Regions from separate parts of the Homo sapiens genome. Here all the other regions are linked to region 3. The links are contacts of gene promoters, found by promoter capture Hi-C in human tissues and cell types (Jung and others, 2019). All regions are on one chromosome and are shown on one strand. The core of a region is centred on a gene start or on the middle of the fragment in contact, and the rest is flanking DNA. Distances in the headings are between cores, read along the strand shown. Region 1 holds the start of PIK3R2 (phosphoinositide-3-kinase regulatory subunit 2). Region 2 holds the start of BRD4 (bromodomain containing 4). Region 3 holds the start of CPAMD8 (C3 and PZP like alpha-2-macroglobulin domain containing 8).

Region 1 (2,700 bases), core at 49-2,548, 1.1 Mb before region 3:
GGAGGAGTGAGTGGGCTGGCAGGTAGCTCCAGCCTGGGGCCCAGAGTAGGCACAAAATGCAGATGGGGAGGTGCTTAGAAGGAACCTTAGCCCCAGGCAGGGACAGGGAGCCAGGAGAAGGTGGGGGTACTGCAGCTGAGGAGGAGGGGAGGCTGCCGGCAGCAGGGCATTGATTATTCCCCAGGAGTCCCAGCCTGGGGAGGCGGAGATAGGCACACATTCCCAGCCTAGCCCTGCGGGTTCAGACGCCCTGTGATGGACAGGGCTAGGGTCGGGGGATGGACGTGCTGTTCTAGAGAATGGATCATCACAGCGGATAGGAAGGCGCGACAGGCAGACGGAACGGCACATGCAAAGCCTTGGCAGTGGGTTAAGTTGCTTGTCAAGGATTCAGGGTGGCTATAAGGATAGGTGCTATCCACCAAGAGGCCCGAGTGTCAGGTGGAGGCTCTGAGCATCCTTCAGTCACGGGGAACCCCAAGAGGTGTCCGAGCAGGGCGGAGGGGCGCCACATTCTCGGGTGCCCAATTTACCCATTCCTAGGCCTCTGTTACCCTCATTCTACAGGTGGGGAAACTGAGGCCCCGAGAGGGGATGCCCAGAAAACCGCCTGGATCTGCCTGCCAGCCCGCCCCCACGCCCCGGTGTGCGCGCCCCGGGAGCAGCGCTCCCCGAATCCGGGAGGCGGGAGGGGCGGGGCAGGCAGGGCTGGGGGCTCCGCGGGTGAAGGCAGGGCCTGAGCGCTCACACAGACGCGCACTTGGGTCTGCGTGGACCCGGCCACCCGGCTAGGGGACCGGAAGTGGGTTCGACCCCCGGCCCTCCCGCACCCCATTCTGCCCCGCACAATGCCTGGGCGCCCCTCGGTACTATTCGAAGCCCCATTCCAGGCAGGGCCTCCCTTCATTTGGGGCCTCGGCTCCAGTCCGGTATCTTGGACGCGGGGAGTCTCTCCCCATTCTGCCCCGACCGTCCCAAGGAGGCTGCACCGCTGCGGAGCCGAGCCCGAGGCCCCCCCTTGCCTGCGGCCCCCCCAGTTCCCGCGGGGCCCGACGCAGCCTGGCGCTTGCGTTCTGGCTTCCACCGGGGCCCGGCACTGCCCCCGGGCGCCCCGCATTTAAGCACACTCCCAGCCGCCCCCGCCACGAGGGCCAGTCAGGACTCACCTGGTCGCGGCCGCCACCGCCGCCGCAGCCGCCGTCACACCAAGCCAAGCCCGCCCCGTGGCTCCACCGCGGCCACCGTCGCCGCAGCCGCGGGATCCCCGCCTCCGCCGCCGCCACGGTTCCGAGCGGCCTGGCCCGCCCCCGGCGGAAATGCCCGAGCGCATTCGAGCCGGGCGGATGAACCGAGGCCGAGGCGGAGCCTGAGGTAAGGGGGCACCCGAGTGTTTCCGGAAGTAGCCGAACGTAATCCCGCGGGACTGGTGGACTAGAGGGTGCCCCCGAGACAGCCGAGCGTTTCCAGAGGTAGCCGAGTGCAATCGGGTCGGCGAGGGATCCGAGACTGGGCTCGGCTGGGCTTAGAGACGCCCGAGCGCTTTCGGAAATGGCCGAACACTCTCTACGGCCGCACTGGCACAACTGAGGCTGATCCCCAAGACCGCGGAGCGTTTCTGGAAATAACCGAATGTGCTCAGTGCCCAATGGAGGCCTTGGGAGTTTAGACCCAGAGGCGACCGCCAGCTTATGGGAATTACTGAAGCATAGATGGTTCCAGGGGACAAATGAGGCGTTCTCAAGCTCAGCAAACAGGGGGCAGTAGAGTGGGGAAAGGGCCTGCCGCAAAAAGCAGAAGTCGGAGAAAGCCAGGGTTGAAGGAGTTTCCATGGCAACCCAGAGCGTCCGGAAACAGCCAACGATCTCGACCCCTACGGGCACTAGAATTTAGCGGACTTGAGCCTAGATGCCGACGGTTTCCGGAAATAGCCGAACGCACTCGGAGATGGGGCTGTAGCCAAGAGTGTTTGCATGCCGGCTGAGCGCCCCGGAAGTAACGGATTGCTCTAGGGCTGGGCCGGGTTCGGCTAGAGGGAGTTTTATGGCAGAGCGCAAGCTAAGACCAGGATAGAAAGGACGCGACGATTGCTTATTTTGTTATTATTTTTTGAGACGGAGTTTCGCTCTTGTTGCCCAGGCTGGAGTGCAATGGCGCTATCTCGGCTCGCCGCAACCTCCACCTCCCGAGTTCAAGCGATTCTCCTGCCTCAGCCTCCCGAGCAGCTGGGATTACAGGCATGCGCCACCACGCCCGGCTAATTTTGTATTTTTAGTAGAGACGGGGTTTCTCCATGTTGGTCAGGGTGGTTTGGAACTCCCGACCTCAGGAGATCCGCCCGCCTTGGCCTTCCAAAGTGCTGGGATTACAGGCGTGAGCCACCGCGCCCCGCCGCTTATTTATTTTATTAACATAGCCCAGGGCGCCCAGGAGGTCGAGGCTGCAATGTGCCGTGATTGCGCCACTGTACTCCAACCTGGGTTACAGAGCGAGACCTTGTCTCAAAAACATAAAAATAAAAAACATAGCTCAGGGCCCAGATGTCTGGAGGAAGCTTTTAAAGGCAGGGCTATGATGGAGTACTCGCAGGGAGAGGGTAGCAGGAGGCTGGTACCAGCGATGGCATCAGGAAGAATCTCAACAGCGAACTGCTATGCAGTCCTCAAAACCCACTTGCAATGACTTTGAGCCATGGGTCTATTT
Region 2 (2,700 bases), core at 89-2,588, 1.7 Mb after region 3:
TAGCTGGCATTACAGGCATGGGATTACAGGCATGCGCCACCACACCCGGCTAATTTTTTTTTTTTTTTTTTGAGACGGAGTCTCGCTCTGTCGCACAGGCTGGAGTGCAGGGGCGCGATCTCCGCTCACAGCAAGCTCCGCCTCCCGGGTTCACGCCATTCTCCTGCCTCAGTCTCTCGAGTAGCTGGGACTACAGGCGCCCACCACCACACCCGGCTAATTTTTTGTATTTTTAGTAGAGACGGGGTTTCACCGTCTTAGCCAGGATGGTCTCGATCTCCTTACCTCGTGATCTGCCCGCCTCCCAAAGTGCTGGGATTACAGGCGTGAGCCACTGCGCCCGGCCCACACGGGGCTAATTTTTGTATTTTTAGTAGAGGCGAGGTTTCACTCTGTTGGCTAGGATGGTCTCCAACCCCTGGCCTCAAGCCAACCTCCTGCCTCTGCCTCCCAAAGTGCTGAGATTACAGGTGTGAGCCACCGAGCCTGGTCTGACTTGGGGTTGAGTCTTAAGGATGGGAAGGAGCTGGGCGCGGTGGCTCACGCCTGTAATACTAGCACTTTGGGAGGTCGAGGCAGGAGGATCGCTTGAGTCCAGGAGACAGAGACCAGCCTGGCCAACATCGTGAGATCCCATCTCTACAAAAAATAGTTAGCTGGGTGTGGTGGTGCACACCTGTAGTCCCAGCTACTTGGGAGGCTGAAGCAGGAGGATCGCTTGAGGCCAGCAGGTTGAGGCTGCAGTGAGCTATGACTGCACTACTGCACTCCAGCCTGGGGGACAGAGCAAGACCATGTCCCTTTTTTTAAAAAGGTGGGTTGGAAGAAGATCAACAGGGGGGCATAAGAGGAGAAAGGTGCTACCTCCCTGCCCAGGGGCAGCCAAGGAGGATCCGCCTCGGCCTTGCTCGCAGCCTCCTCTCACCTCCTTTCCTCCACTTCACCCCAGCCCCGGCGCCCCCATCGCAGCTCTCTCGCCTCAGCCTCCCTACCTGGGGTCCCCCCTTAGGGCTCTCTCCTCCGCCTCCTCCATCAGTCTGTGGGGTCCCTCCTCACCATCCTCCCTCCCTGTGAGGGTCTGTCTTCAGACCTTTCTTAGTATTTTGGATGTCTCTCTCAGCCTTCAGATCTTTTCCCGCAGGCCCAGCCTGCAGTCCGCCCGTTTCCCCCAGCCCGCTCCTTCGCTCTGCGGGGTCTCCTCCCTCAGTCCGCGGTATCCCCCACTCACCTCGCAGCCACTGTCTCTCCAGAGCTCGTTCGCGCTGGGCGCGGGGGCGGGGCGCGCACACCGGGCGGCGGCGGCGCGGGGCCGCGCGCGCAGCGTGCGCGGTGACGTCAGTGCGCTGGCGGCGGCGGCGGCGGCGGCGGCGGCGGCTGGGCTGTTTGTTCTGGTCTCCCGCAGCCGAGGAGCCGAAGCAGTGGCGGCGGCAGCGGCTGCGGCGGCTGCCGGCGGTGCCCGCGGGCGAGCGCGGCCTGTGAGCTCGGCAGAGCGGCGGGCGGGCCCCGGCGCCGCGCAGGCAGCTCGGGGAGGGGGCGGCGGCAGCGGGCGGACGGCCGGCGGGGGCGGCGTGCGGCCTAGCGTCTCAGGTGAGGACTGGTGCCCTTTGGGGCGGCGGACGACACTGGGCGGCTGGCGGAGGCTCGCGGCGCGGTCCGCGTAACCTGCATTGCGTAATGGGGCCGGGGCGCCGCCACCTACGCCATCCGCGCGGCGCGGGGGCGGGGAGGCCGGGGCTACGCGGGCTCGGGCCTGCGGGCCTCCCGCGCCGTTCGTTCCGGGCCGGGGCGGCCTGCGCCGTTGGTGTCGGGGCGGCGGGGTCGCTCGCGGCTGTCCTGCCTTTGGTGCCGTCGGACCCGGGCTTGGGCTGGCCGGCGGGGCGCGGGTGGGGGGCGCGGGCGCCGCGGCGGGGCCGGCGGTCGGGGGCGGGCGGGGGGCGGGCCGAGGCGCCCGGCACTTCCTGCCGCCGCCATTTTGTTAAGTGAGGAGGAGGAGGAGGAGGAGGAAGCGGCCGCCGCGGGGTCCGCGGCGCGCCCGGCCCGGGTAAGTCCCGGCCTGGCGCGGGGGCCGCGAGCGCAGCTGTCCCGGTCCGCGGTCCTCTAGGCGGGCTCGGCCGCGGCGCTCACGTGGGCCGGGGCCGGCGCGCTCTCCTTCTGGCACCCAGGTCGTTTTGCCTGGGCCGGGGCAGCGCGCCCCCACCCCCATCTCTTCACCTTCCCGGCGGTCCCCGGAGTGCTGCGGAGAAAGGGGCAGGTCCCCTGCGGAGGGAGGTGGCTGCGGCTGCACGCCGGTCTGAGGCCAGGCCTCAGGGCGGGAGCGGTGCCCTGGAGGCGAGCTTGGCCCGCTTGACGCACCCACTCTCAGCCTGGCAGCCCCTTGCTGGGCGCTTTGTTTTGCTCGGTCCGTGCTCGCCGGCGTCCTTGCAACGGCCTATTTTATTTGCAGTGTTGTGTGGTGGTGGTGATTGTGGTGATTTGGGGTGGGGATGTGGGGGAGTTGTGATTCAGCGAAATAAAATGATCCCCCTCCTCCCAAACGGAAATAGCATGGCTTCACTCGGCTGAGATGCCCCCAAGGCTTGGGTTTGCTTGAAGATGGGAAACCCCACTCTGTTGTAGTGGACGGTGTAAATACTTTAGTTCAGGCCGGTGCATGAGTCATGTGCTTCTCCTGGGTGGCTGACCTCCCTTTTACTCAAGACT
Region 3 (2,700 bases), core at 23-2,522:
CAAAGCCAGAGTTTAGATTTGGTCTCAATAAACGGGAAGCCCTGGCTGGATGTGGTGGCTCACACCTGTAATCCCAGCACTTTGGGAGGCTGAGGAGGGAGGATCATTTGAGCCCAGTGCTCAAGACCAGCCTGGGCAACACAGTGCGACTCCGTTTCTAAAAAAAAATATATAAAAATTAGCTGGGTGCGGGCTTGCACCTGTAGTCCCAGCTACTCTCCAGGAGTCTGAAGCTGCAGTGAGCTGTGACTGCACCACTAAATTCCTGCCTGGGCAACAGAGCAAAACTCTGGTCTCAAAACATAAAAATAAAATGTAAAATAAACAGGGAGCCCCGAGGATTCCGGGCAGGAGGGGGTGTGGTCAGCACTGGAATTTTAGAAGAAGGGCAGTTGGTAGCTGGGGGAAGGGGGTTCCACACTGGAAGGAGGGGGTCCAGGACTTGGACATGGTATAGGATGTGCCGCCTGCCAGTGGGACCTAGGACAGCAGGACCATCACTGAGGTGGCCACACGGGGAGGGGCAGGAGGGGACACCCTGCTCTTGGAGAGAAAGGGGGTGCCCATCCACCCCTGCTGTATGAAGGGGAAAGGGGGACTCTGAGGCCCAGCGAGAGAGGGGACGGGCCCAAGGGATTTGTGGACAGTGGGGGTGGGGGAGAGGGGAGCAGAGAGCACAGATAGGGACCTGGGGCAGATGTGAGTCTGGGAGGTTCGACCCCTGGCTAGACTGTTTCCCCAAAGGGTCCTCTGCTCCTTGGGCTGTACGCACTGCACTGGGCACTAGATACAGGCCAGGGCTTAGGGCACGGCGGCGCCTGTGGGATCGGGGTTGCAGGCGGCGTCCAGACCCAGGGGCCCCTGGTGAGGGGCGGGCCCGGGGAGGGGGCCATAAGGGGCTGGCTGGGGAGGGAGGGAGGGAGAGGCCAGGGAAGGGACAGGTTCCGAGTGGACGCTGGGTGGAGAGGAGAGGGAGAGTGGGGGCGGTGGGGGGTCGGGTCCGAGGCGGGGCTGGTGGGGAGGGGGGCATCCGGGGGCGAATCCGGGTAGGGGGTGAGGAGGCGGGTTCGGAAGGAATCGGGCAGGGCCCGGGTGGGTCCGGTGAGTAAGTGAGGGGACGATCCCCGGAAGGGATCGGGGCGGGTCGGGGTCCGGAGATGGGCGGAGCAGGCGTCCCGGGAGGGTGCGCCCAGGAGCGGGGCGAGCGGGGCGAGCGGGGCGGTCCCGGAGACGAGGCGGGTCCGGGGAGGGGGCTGGCCCGGGGCTGCCCCAGCTTGGCCGGGCGCGGAGCGGGGCGCATGGCGCCGGGCGCACTGCGCGGGGGCTGCGAACAAAGGGCCCCCGGCGGCGGCGCGAGGACGGCCGCGCTCGGACCCTGGCCCTGGCCCAGCCCTGGCCCGGCCCCCTCCCCAGGCGCGGCGCCCCCCAGGAGCCGAAAAATGAGCGGCGCCCTGCTCTGGCCGTTGCTCCCGCTCCTGCTCCTGCTGCTGTCGGCGCGGGACGGCGTGCGCGCCGCGCAGCCTCAGGCCCCGTGAGTATCCTCCGGCGACAGAGGAGGTCGGTCGCCTTCTGGGGTGGGGGTCGCGGGTACTGGCTCAGAGTGTTGCAGCGACCTGCCCAAGGCCACACAGCCTCCGCGCTGGGCTGGACCTGGCCTCTTGTTCCCGAATCGTCTTGAGGAGGGGGCGCCCTAAAGTTTCCGAAGTGGCTCTGTGGAGGTACAGGGACTCCCAAAAGCTAAAGGTGCTGAGGTCAGCTCCCCCCGCCCCACCTCGCCCCCTTCGTGTGACCCGGGCTGTCATCATGGGTGGCGATTTCCAGTTGTCCAAGGTATGAAGGTAAGAGGAGCGTCTTGGCTGAGAAGTGGGAGGAGAGTGCGAAGGGGCACTTTCCCGTGGGTGGGCGTGGTGAGGGAGGAGGAAGTGTTTGTTTTGCTTCTACATTTTTCTAGAGGTTTGCTTGCAGGCTTCTGGTGGGTTGACAGCGGGGAGAAGGTGAATTAACTAACTGCTGGGGAGTACTGCTAAGTTGGCTTCACAGAGAATATTTCTAAACCTGGCAAGTTCGGGTGAGCTCTGCAGGGCTGCGGGTTCAGGGGGGCTGCCCTGGTCTGCACAAGACCAGCCTTTTAGTCCAGCTGGGCGTTTAGAAGGCGGCTTGTTCAAGCAGCCCTTGTTTAGGAGTTTCCAGAAAACTGGTAAGCAGTGAGACTAGGTGGGTGTCGTTATTTGCAGTGAGTAGTTGGTCCTTGCTGGTCACAGTTTTAAAAGCAAGACAGTCTACTGCGCTCTGAGCATCCAGACTTCCCTCTCCTAGGCTTCGTGAAATCGGAACCCTACAAATTTTCATCCTAATGCTTCTTTCAAAGCTGGCATCCCTTAGAATAGTGGTTCTCAGCCCTGGGGGGGATTTTTGTCTCCCTGAGGCCGCTGGGAAATGTCTGGAGGTATTTTTGGTTGTCACAAATAGGGAGAGGCATTTGGTGTTGGCATTAAGTGGGTGCAGGCCAGGAATGCTGGTAAACAGCTTTCGATGTGCAGGTCAGCTTCCACTGCAAGGAATGACGCGGCCCCACATGACAGACCTTGGCTCCAATGAGAGACCCTGCCTTATACAGAGGTTTTTGTTTGTTGTTTGTTGTTTTTGGGGTTTGTTTTTGTTTTTGTTTTGAGATGGAGTTTTACTCTTGTTGCCCAGGCT

The links. The method cuts DNA at HindIII sites, captures the fragments that hold promoters and counts their contacts. A contact is called where the count stands out against the background at its distance.
Region 1: the fragment with the promoter of PIK3R2 here is called in contact with the fragment with the promoter of CPAMD8 in region 3 in 1 of the 25 tissues and cell types used here (heart right ventricle).
Region 2: the fragment with the promoter of BRD4 here is called in contact with the fragment with the promoter of CPAMD8 in region 3 in 1 of the 25 tissues and cell types used here (heart left ventricle).

The regions. Positions count from the first base shown.
Region 1 is chr19:18,151,761-18,154,460 of GRCh38, reverse strand. It overlaps PIK3R2 (phosphoinositide-3-kinase regulatory subunit 2), which reads right to left and starts at 1,298. Exons shown (of 16, transcript NM_005027.4): 1 at 1,167-1,298. RefSeq lists silencers at 428-647, 958-1,337 and enhancers at 1,448-1,727, 1,033-1,925, 2,468-2,547. The HindIII fragment of the contact is 11,749 bases long and covers 1-2,700 here.
Region 2 is chr19:15,331,177-15,333,876 of GRCh38, reverse strand. BRD4 (bromodomain containing 4) reads left to right here and starts at 1,338. Exons shown (of 20, transcript NM_001379291.1): 1 at 1,338-1,587. It overlaps LOC124904643 (a long non-coding RNA gene), which reads right to left and starts at 1,264. Exons shown (of 4, transcript XR_007067146.1): 1 at 1,229-1,264. RefSeq lists an enhancer at 456-1,072 and silencers at 1,029-1,098, 1,239-1,338, 1,569-1,798, 1,999-2,098, 2,129-2,278 and 1 more. The HindIII fragment of the contact is 25,776 bases long and covers 1-2,700 here.
Region 3 is chr19:17,025,382-17,028,081 of GRCh38, reverse strand. CPAMD8 (C3 and PZP like alpha-2-macroglobulin domain containing 8) reads left to right here and starts at 1,272. Exons shown (of 42, transcript NM_015692.5): 1 at 1,272-1,531. The coding sequence starts at 1,440. RefSeq lists an enhancer at 192-1,100. The HindIII fragment of the contact is 4,679 bases long and covers 1-2,700 here.